2 separate regions of the Homo sapiens genome follow, and region 2 is linked to region 1. The links are contacts of gene promoters, found by promoter capture Hi-C in blood cells and fetal thymus (Javierre and others, 2016). All regions are on one chromosome and are shown on one strand. The core of a region is centred on a gene start or on the middle of the fragment in contact, and the rest is flanking DNA. Distances in the headings are between cores, read along the strand shown. Region 1 holds the start of HIRA (histone cell cycle regulator). Region 2 overlaps HIRA (histone cell cycle regulator).

Region 1 (4,901 bases), core at 881-3,380:
GCCACTGTTGTGCTTGCTCTGCCAGGCTGATGCACTTGGCTGCTGATCTGAGTGTAGTCTCTTATTCATTTGTACCTAGTTCGTCACTTAAGCATCTTGACTTACTTATGTTTACATAGCATAAAACTTTTGGCCTACAAAGGAGCTTATCAAAAAGGAACAAGTTATATGACAGTAGAAGAGAGGCTGGAGAAGGGTAGGCTATTCACAAAAACTGATTTAGGTAAAGCATTTTAAAATAAAAATTCTATCAGACCTTCACACAGTAAACTAGTTCATAATAACATTTTTCCTTTCCTAATCACAAGCATCATAATTCATAATTACAATATTTGTCCAGTTCTCCAGGGAAAGATCTGCACAGTACACATCAGGAAATGCTCTTGGAGATCAACAGGAGAAATGAAACTAAAACTCAAGGCTTCGGCTTTCATGCACAGTAAACCTAACTTCATCTTGATAAATTATGAAAACCTCAGCTTTCTTACCTGTTTTAGCCAATATTTATCACATACCCATCATGTGGAAGAGGTTGTTCAATGCAGTAGGGCATACAGAAGGGACTGAGGCAGTCCCTACCCTGGGGGCATATGGAAAGTACCCTCACACCTTCCATGCCAGGCAAAACACACAGACAGTGATACAGCACATCTACCGGGGTAACTCAGGATGAACAGTTTCAAAAGAAACACGTGAACCTAGTCCCTGAAAAATGGGAAAGATGTCACACAAGATGGAAGGAGAGAGAGGTGGCAGGAGGAGAACACACACATGATCAGTTCAGTTTAGTTGTGGTAGTAGAGAGCATCCTGGGACCAAATTCAAAACGAAAAAGCCACATGTTAAAATATCTATTCTCGCTCCTAAAGAAAACGGTAGCACCCTGTAGTCGCACTGCAAAGTAGAAATGAGGAACAAGACAGCATCAGGGTGACCCTTTGCCTGTCAACAGTCAGACAGGCCAGAATCAGGCCCTGGGCTGGAGGAGTCTCCCTGGGTTGATTTCTGTGCTACAGTGCTGTCAGCAGAGTGGGGTGGGGGAGGGGGAGGCGCGCTTTTTTCATCTACCCGGGGAGCAAACACCAACTCCTGCAGCAGTTCTGCCAACAAGGCAGAACTATGACGAAACTGATTACCACTAGCCTCTCTGTATCAGAGTCAAGATATGGGGTGGATGAGTCCGTTCCCCAAGGGTGTGCTTTGGAGCCACTGCCACAGAGCTAAGAAGCCCCTCTGCTAGAACACACCTGTGCCCTATCTGCCCAACCCTAGTTCACCCTGATGTCCCAGCTCAGCATTAATCGTGGATCCTTCGCGGGGGCCCGGGGCCCCCAAACCCTCCTATTTAGGGACCACAATTCCCCAACTGGGGGCACTGTCCCCAGATCCAGAGGGGCAGTAACAGTCCCTCTTGCAGATTTCGGATCTTCATCCTGCCACTGAAAGGCCACAAGGGGGATTTCATCCCGGTTTCACCTTCAGGACCGTCTGAGCACTTCTCGGGCGATGCAGACCAGTGGAAGGCACTGGCTGGCACCAAGGCCCGCTCCTGGGAGCCAGGCCGCGGCCCCTCCAAGGACCACAGGTGGGCAGCGGAAGACTCAGAGCAAGAGCCAGGGGCGAAGATGGCCCTCGCTGCGGTCAACCCGGAGCACGTGCTGGGGCTCACCAGCCTCTCCGCGCTGAGGACAAAGTCCGCTCCCGCCGGCTTCTTGGCTTGGGCACCGGGTACCGGGCGTCAGGGGCGAGACAGGCAGGACTTGCGCGCGCCCCGACTCGACTCCAGACCCCGACCCGACTCCGGGCTCGGCCTCCCGCGACCCCTGCGCGCACTCACCATTGTGGTTGACCCAGGTCGGCTTCAGGAGCTTCATTGTTCGGCCGCCGCCGCCGCCGGGCTGAGGCGAGCGCCGGGTCCCTCAGCGCGCCCGGGCCATGGAGCCACCGCCGCCGCTTCCTCCCGCGCCACCCGCCCTCCGGCCGCCGCCCGCCCCGCGCCCTCAGGGCCGCCGCGCCATCGCCGGCCCGCGCCCCCCTCCGCCGCCACAGCCGCCACCCGCGCTCGGCCGCCGCCGCCGCCACCACAGCCGCATCCCCTGCGCCGCTCCTCCTCAGGCGGCTCCCGGGCAACGCCGGAAGTCACGGCGCGCACCTGCCAAATCGCCCCGGCGGGAAACCGCTCCCCACGCGGACTGGGCCGCCCCGGCTCCTCCGCTGGCAGGGGCTTCGGGTCGGGCCCGGGCGCGGGCGCCCCAGAAAGGGCGGTTCGCCTGGACGGCGGACAGCGAGCGGGGCCTGCAGTTGCAACCCGGGCCGCCCGCAGAGGCAGGCGGGGCCCAGGTGGCGTGGACCGCCCGTCACCAGCTCTGCCTCGCCAGTCTGAGTCCGACTTATTAACTAGCTTCCGTCATTCATCAACACGCGCTATTGGGCATCTTGCGAGCGCCGGGCTCCGCGCCGGCGCCGGAATGCGATCCGGGCTTCGGACTCGAACGAATGCGGGGGACGAGCCAACCCTGGTGGGGGAGGCTGGGGCGGACGCGTTTATTAGAAGATCGGGGCCGTTTGCCTAGACATGAACATTTGGACTCGGAGGAGCAGAGGGACGCCCCCTCGGCCGCTCCGGCTGCACTGCGGAGCCGAGGCCCGCGCGAGGGCGCAGACCGACCAACCGGCTAGGGCCTGACTGGCTAGACTGTGCCCGCTGCAGAGGCGCGCTCCCAGCACAGGGCGGGGACGGAAGGGAGGACCCCGAGCCGCGTGAAACGCAAGGCCCTCGTGTGTGCGCAGCTGACACCCTAGGCGGGGCTGCGTCGGGGGCGGGGACAGGCGCGTCCCAGCCCACGCAGCCGGAACGCCTGAGCGCTGGGCGCCTGGTCTGCCGGACCTCAGCAGGGGGCACCGCGGGCCGGACTGTGGAGGGGCGCACGCCCGGAAGCGGCGAGGGTAGCCATGACGGCCTCCGTGCTGCGAAGTATCTCGCTAGCCCTGCGCCCGACTAGCGGGTGAGTGCGGACGCTGGCCGGATAGCGGAGTGCCCAGGGCGCGTGCGGGGTCTTCGCGACTGTCCGCCAGGACTCGCCTGTGCTCCCTGCTCGCCTCCCAGTCCACGAATATCTCAGGGATGAGCCATCTGGTCGTGACTCTTATGCATGAAAATCTGAGCACCCTGGCGAGCAGCGGTCCTGCTTAAGTCCTCTGTGGTCTGAACGAAAGATTTTGAAAAACCTTCCACGTTGACCTTGCTGTCATATCAAGTAGTTAGAAGTGCCCCGGGTTTGGGAGCATTGCAATTTTTTATTTTCCTGTGAAGTGGGAGAGAATCAGATATTTATTTATTTATTTGAGACAGAGTCTCGCTCTGTCGCCCAGGCTGGAGTGCAGTGGCGCGATTTCGGCTCACTGCAACCTCTGCCTCCCGGGTTCAAGCAGTTCTGCCCCGGCCTCCCGAGTAGCTCGGATTACAGGCGCCCAACACCACGCCCGGCTAATTTTTGTATTTTTAGTAGAGACGGGGTTTCACCATGTTGGCCAGGCTGGTCTTGAACTCCTGACCTCGCGATCCACCCGCCTCGGCCTCCCAAAGTGCTGGGATTACAGACGTGAGCAACCGCGCCTAGCCTGGAGAAGCAGATATTTATACATACTCTTGTATCTTTCAGGCTTCTGGGAACTTGGCAGACGCAGCTTAGAGAGACTCACCAGCGAGCGTCATTGTTGTCTTTCTGGGAACTCATTCCCATGAGGTAAAACTCAATCGAGGGCCTGACCTCTGGGGGTAAAGGTGTCAGTCTATGTGTAGAGAACAAAGCAAGAATGCTGGATGTGTGGTTTGCAAAATTAACAGCCTACAAAGTTTCTCAGTTAAATTTAGGCCGATGCTTTTCTGTTTTTCCAACATTTTCCAAACCATAGATTGTTGTTTGTAATTTTTAAAATTTGAGCAGTTTCTCAAGAAGTAAGTATTCTCCTTGAAGGGATTCTTGTGTGTTTTAAAGGACACAGCTTAAGTTTCTGTTTCTCCATGACCCTTCCTCTTCCCTGCCCATTCGGAGGCCCTGGAGAGTGTGGGGAAGATGCAAGTATTAAAGGTATTTCCATCTGGCACTCTCGACTCTTTGTAGATACTTGATTCAGTCAATCTTGATAGTAAAGGATTTGATTTTTCTTTTTTTTTTGAGATGGAGTCTCACTGTGTCACCCAGGCTGGAGTGCAGTGGTGTGACCTCGGATCACTGCAACCTTCGCCTCCTGGGTTAAACTAATTCTCCTGCCTCAGCCTCCCAAGTAGCTGGGATTACAGGCGCCCACTACCACGCCCGGCTAATTTTTGTGTTTTTAGTAGAGACGGGGTTTCACCATGTTGGATGTTGGTCAGGCTGGTCTCGAACTCCTGATCTCAGGTGATCCACCCACCTCAGCACCCAAAGTGCTGGGATTACAGGCCTGAGCCACCGCACCCAGTCCACAAATCAATTTTAATAGTAATAAGCTTCTAATCTAACAGTTTGGTATTTTCACTTTTGAGTGTAATCCCAAGGCACACCTGAATCCCAGCAATAAAGAGGAACACTTCCCGATTTTATACCCTGATGCCTCTTGTTGCTTTTGTACTTTTTTTTTTTTTTTTTTTTTTTTGAGACAGAGTCTCGCTCTGTTACCCAAGCTGGAGTGCAGTGGCGCGATCTTGTCCTACTGCAACCTCCGCCTCCCAGGCTCAAGTGATTCTCCTGCCTCAGCTTCCCGAGAAGCTGGGATTACAGGTGCGCACCACCACACCCAGCTAATTTTTGTATTTTTAGTAGAGACAGGGTTTCGCCATGTTGACCAGGCTGGTCTCGAACTCCTGACCTTGGGCAATCTGCCCGCCTTTGCCTCCCAAAGTGCTGGGATTACAGGCC
Region 2 (4,407 bases), core at 1-2,500, 42 kb before region 1:
AGGCCTCATGTTCCAATGTGTGGCTTCTCCTTTCTTAACCTATTCCTGTAAGTAGAATCCACCTTACCAGGAAATATCCATGATGGATTTGTCAAACAGTTCATGGATGACCACCAGCGGCCGTTTCAGACATGTGAGCTGGAAGGAAAGACACAGTCAAGGTTAATGAAATTACTGAAATCCCCTTCTGTATTCAGCTCAGTTAACATAACCAACCTAGAAGCCTGGGTCAAAGTGGCTGCTGATATTTAAGGCATCTTCAACTCTATTCAAACTGCAGCTGCAGAGATCCCAAACTGTGGGAACCAAAGCCTGCCAAAAATGTGCATGCTACCTAGAGTGGACCCTGCCTCCAGGGCTTGCTGTGGTCTGACAGGGGAAATAGCTTTATACACAGATAACTAGCAACAGAGAAGGCAGAGTGGGAGTGGGTTTCTGAAGGGCTATGGTCGGAGGAGAGGGACAGCCCCAGGGTGGACCTCTGAGAGGGTCTATGGAGCAGGAGACACGATGCCAAAGCCTAGACAGGGGATGAGGCACCCTGAGAGAGAACACAACACATCTTCCCTGGGCCCAAGGGACTCTGGTACACATTTATCCAAGGCTCATTCTACACTATGTGTAGGTAGTACAGAAATACACACCTGGGCCCTTAATCTGGGCCTAGTTACCGACTATTAATACTTTGATGAATTATTATCTTCTATTTTGTGCAAATATTTATTTTATTCTTCAAAGTAAGAATTTATTTTATTCTTCATAGTTGTGTCTGTTTTTTCATTTAACACACAATAAGTATGTCATTAAATATCCTGTAAAAGTCTCTTCTGGATGACTGCATAGCATGCACTGTGCATATTCTCTATCGAGTCACTCAATTGCTGGCATACACTCTGACTCCACGTTCCCACAACTATGGTAGGCCTTTCCACTTGTGCACAAGTGCCTGGCTACCCTGCTGGCTGGCCCTGAACTGCAGGACAATGGGCAGGGAAGAAACACACTTCCTCACGGGATGGTGGGCTCCCATAGGTGCTGCTGCAGCTTCTGGGAGGCTGTGGGGCTGAGCGTCCCAGTGCAGCCTGAGACTGCTATGTGGGGAAGGAGAAGCTGTGTCTACCCTAGTGGTGGAGAGGGGGCTGAAGTCTGAACGATCTGGAACCCACATTAAGAATCTCGCCTCCACCTTAATTCCACTTCTAGAAAAAGCTGCCTTGTCCCTCCTCTCATAAATGTGCCTACAGACCCCTCAGAAATCTACAGGCCGTGTGACTGCCTAACCTGAGCATTCTAAGAAATATGGGCATCACAGTCAGTGATGTTTTGGTTGCAGCGCCACAAACAGGGCCTCTGGCTGGGAGGAAACAGGGAAGGTCCCCTGAACGGCAATCTGTGGTACTGTGGTTCAGGTTCCAGAATGGGTGTTAAGTGAATACTTGGCCTAAAAAAAAAAAAAAAAATCACAACGCACACAGTAATATATTTCTCTATACCAAACTAATAAATGCAGCCAGAGGATAACCTTCAAACCCAGAACTTCCAACTTGCTCTGCTTATAGGGACACTTTTTTACAAAATGAAAAAAAAAAAAAATTAATGTGTGTGCACTTTGCTTTATCAAACTTTAAATATATTGGCACCTTGATGCTCAGCACCAAGACTGCTCCCTGCACTGCATGCGGAGGTGTCTCTTACCACACAGTCAGGTCACAGCACACCAGCCCCTGGCAGTGAGAAACTTAACCCTTCAGGAGCCCTCACTTAGAAACCGCCACAGTTCTTACCCTTGGGTTCTCACTCGCCAACTACCATTGAGTATATCTGCTGAGAACCTGCTCTGTAGAGGGCACTGAGTTAGGAAGGTGAGGGGAACAATGAAACTGAAGACACATCGGGCTGGGTGTGGTGGCTCACACCTGTAATCCCAGTACTTTGGGAGGCCAAGGCGGGCGGATCACCTGAGGTCAGGAGTTTGTGACCAGCCTGGACAACATGGTGAAACCCCATCTTTACTAAAATTACAAAAAAATTAACCGGGTGTGGTGGCCTGTAATCCCAGCTATTCAGGAGGCTGAGGCAGGAGAATCTCGCTCGAACCCAGGAGGCAGAGGTTGCAGTGACTCAAGAAGCCAAGATTGCACCACTGCACTCCAGCCTGCTGGGCAATAGAGGGAGACTCTGTCTCAAAAAAAAAAAAAAAAAAAAAAAAAAGAAGCTGAAGACATCGCCTCATCTCAGGGGATCCAGCGAGTGAGGAGTACTAGGCTCACAACCTTACCCATCACAGCATCACCCAGGGGTGAAATGGACTAATAGAGGCGTCAGCTTTCTGTGTGTCTTTTTCTGTGGACATAAGCACTTATCTGTCTTGGTTGTATGCCTAGGAGTGGAAGTGCTCTAGGTCATATGCTTAGCTGTGGTAGAAACTGCCAGACAGTTTTCCCAAGTGCTCATGCCAGCGTAAACACCTGTCAGCAACACGTGTCAGCAATGTATCAGTTCCAGCTTATCATGTCCTTGCTGACACTTGGTACTATTTTTTTGTTTTTTTTTTTAATTTTAGAACTCTACTCATAGGTATGTACTCATAAATGAAAACGTACATCCACATAAAGACTTATACAAGAATGTTCATATCAGCTTTAGTCATAATATCTCAAAACTGGAACAATCTTAATGTCCATCAACAGGAGACTGTATAAACAAATTGTGGTGTATTCATACAGTGGAATGCTACACCGAAATTATAAGGAATAAAATACTGTTAAGTGCAGCAACATACACGAATCTCAAAAACACTGTGCCAAGCAAAAGAAATGAAGACACAAAGAAGCAAGTACCACACAATTGCATTTATATGAAGTTCAAGAGCAGGCAAAACTCATCAGTGTAACAGAGGCCATTAGAGTGGTTGCTTTGGTGGTGAGGGAGGTCTTGACTGGGGAGGGACAAAGGGACAAAAAGGAGTGCTCTAGGCAGTGATGACACTGGTGTGTAAACATGTATGACAACTCACCAAACTGTACCTTTCAGGTGAATACACTTTATATAAAGATTTTTCTTTTTCTTTTTTTTTTTTTTTTGAGACGGAGTCTCGCTCTGTTGCCCAGGCTGGAGTGCAGTGGCGCGGTCTCAGCTCACTGCAAGCTCTGCCTCCCAGGTTCACGCCATTCTCCGTCTCAGCCTCCCGAGTAGCTGGGACTACAGGCGCCCACCACCACGCCCAGCTAATTTTTTGTATTTTTAGTAGAGACGGGGTTTCACTGTGTTAGCCAGGATGGTCTCGAACTCCTGACCTTGTGATCCGCCCACCTCGGCCTCCTAAAGTGCTGGGATTACAGGCGTGAGCCACCGCGCCCAGCCATATAAAGATTTTTCTAATAGGAAGCAAGCCCAACATGCTGCTCATGGCATTGACCACTGAGGGTGCTGCCTGAGTCTGGACACAAGAGCTGGTCTAGGTGGGGGTCAAGGTGGCCTCTCCTGGCTGGGCACAGACCCAGTCTTCAGCACTTCCTTCTGGGAGAGCAGGAGAGCCTGTGAGCTTCCAAGGAGGGGCTGACCCCAGGTGCAGAATAGAAATACACTCTTAGCATCACCCAAAGCAGGTCTCTTTCCTCCACTTGCTACTTTACCAACCTACACCTCCCGTCCTGCAACAAAAGCTCAGGATAGCAGGCTCACCCAGACAGAAAGCGAGCGGTCCTTGCTGCCAACAGCACAGCAGCAGTACGGGCAGCTAGGCTTCGCAGAACTCCCATTCTTCTGCTTCTTTTTGAAGATTTTTGGGTTGAATTTCTAAAGCCAAATAACAGATGTTAAAAATAATTAATCAAGCATCAGGCATGTCCCCTGTGCCCAAGTCCCAGCCCACTGAAGGGAGTCTCCCACAGACATTCTCTGAGCCCAGGCACTGAGCATGCATTTCATCTTCCCGACCACCTATGAGGCATCTGGCTGATGATGGAAAGGAAGCTTAGGGAGGTCAGAAAGTATGTGCGGAGGCACCAAATGAGTAAGCTGGGAAATGCAGATTTGAAACTAGAGCTACCAAACTCTCCATTTCTGGAGCTTGCCAAGTAGAAGGGATGCGTAGCTACTGAAACTAGCCTTCTCAATTCCCTCTGGCCAGGCAGGGCCAGCCCTAGGACCTGCAGAAAAGCTGAGCCTGCAAGGGGGCTTCAGAAACAAAGACCTACTCACTCCCTATCTCCTAAGGGAGGCCAAGGGGATGGGCAGGAGGGGTGTGAATCTCTGAATTCCTTATTGCCTCACTGCATTTGTTGTTCAGTCATAACCGTCTAGCAGAGATCTGCTCAGTCAGAGAGTCATTTGTGATCTCCCTGGGCCAGTGACCATGGCAATATCACACAAAGGTGCTTGGTTGGCTGCTTAGTCCAGGGAACT

What was found. The method cuts DNA at HindIII sites, captures the fragments that hold promoters and counts their contacts. A CHiCAGO score of 5 or more calls a contact.
Region 2: a contact is called between a fragment that was not itself captured here and the fragment with the promoter of HIRA in region 1, in 1 of 17 cell types (erythroblasts). The highest score is 5.3, in erythroblasts.

What each region holds. Positions count from the first base shown.
Region 1 is chr22:19,429,603-19,434,503 of GRCh38, forward strand. HIRA (histone cell cycle regulator) reads right to left here and starts at 2,131. Exons shown (of 25, transcript NM_003325.4): 1 at 1,838-2,131. The coding sequence starts at 1,874. It overlaps MRPL40 (mitochondrial ribosomal protein L40), which reads left to right and starts at 2,943. Exons shown (of 4, transcript NM_003776.4): 1 at 2,943-3,005; 2 at 3,663-3,746. The coding sequence starts at 2,953. RefSeq lists enhancers at 598-727, 968-1,037, 986-1,733 and silencers at 2,018-2,417, 2,708-3,017. The HindIII fragment of the contact is 6,181 bases long and covers 1-4,490 here.
Region 2 is chr22:19,388,417-19,392,823 of GRCh38, forward strand. It overlaps HIRA (histone cell cycle regulator), which reads right to left. Exons shown (of 25, transcript NM_003325.4): 9 at 3,685-3,798; 10 at 68-138. Among named protein-coding and RNA genes, the nearest start is that of HIRA, 41 kb to the right of the region's middle. The HindIII fragment of the contact is 5,446 bases long and covers 1-3,973 here.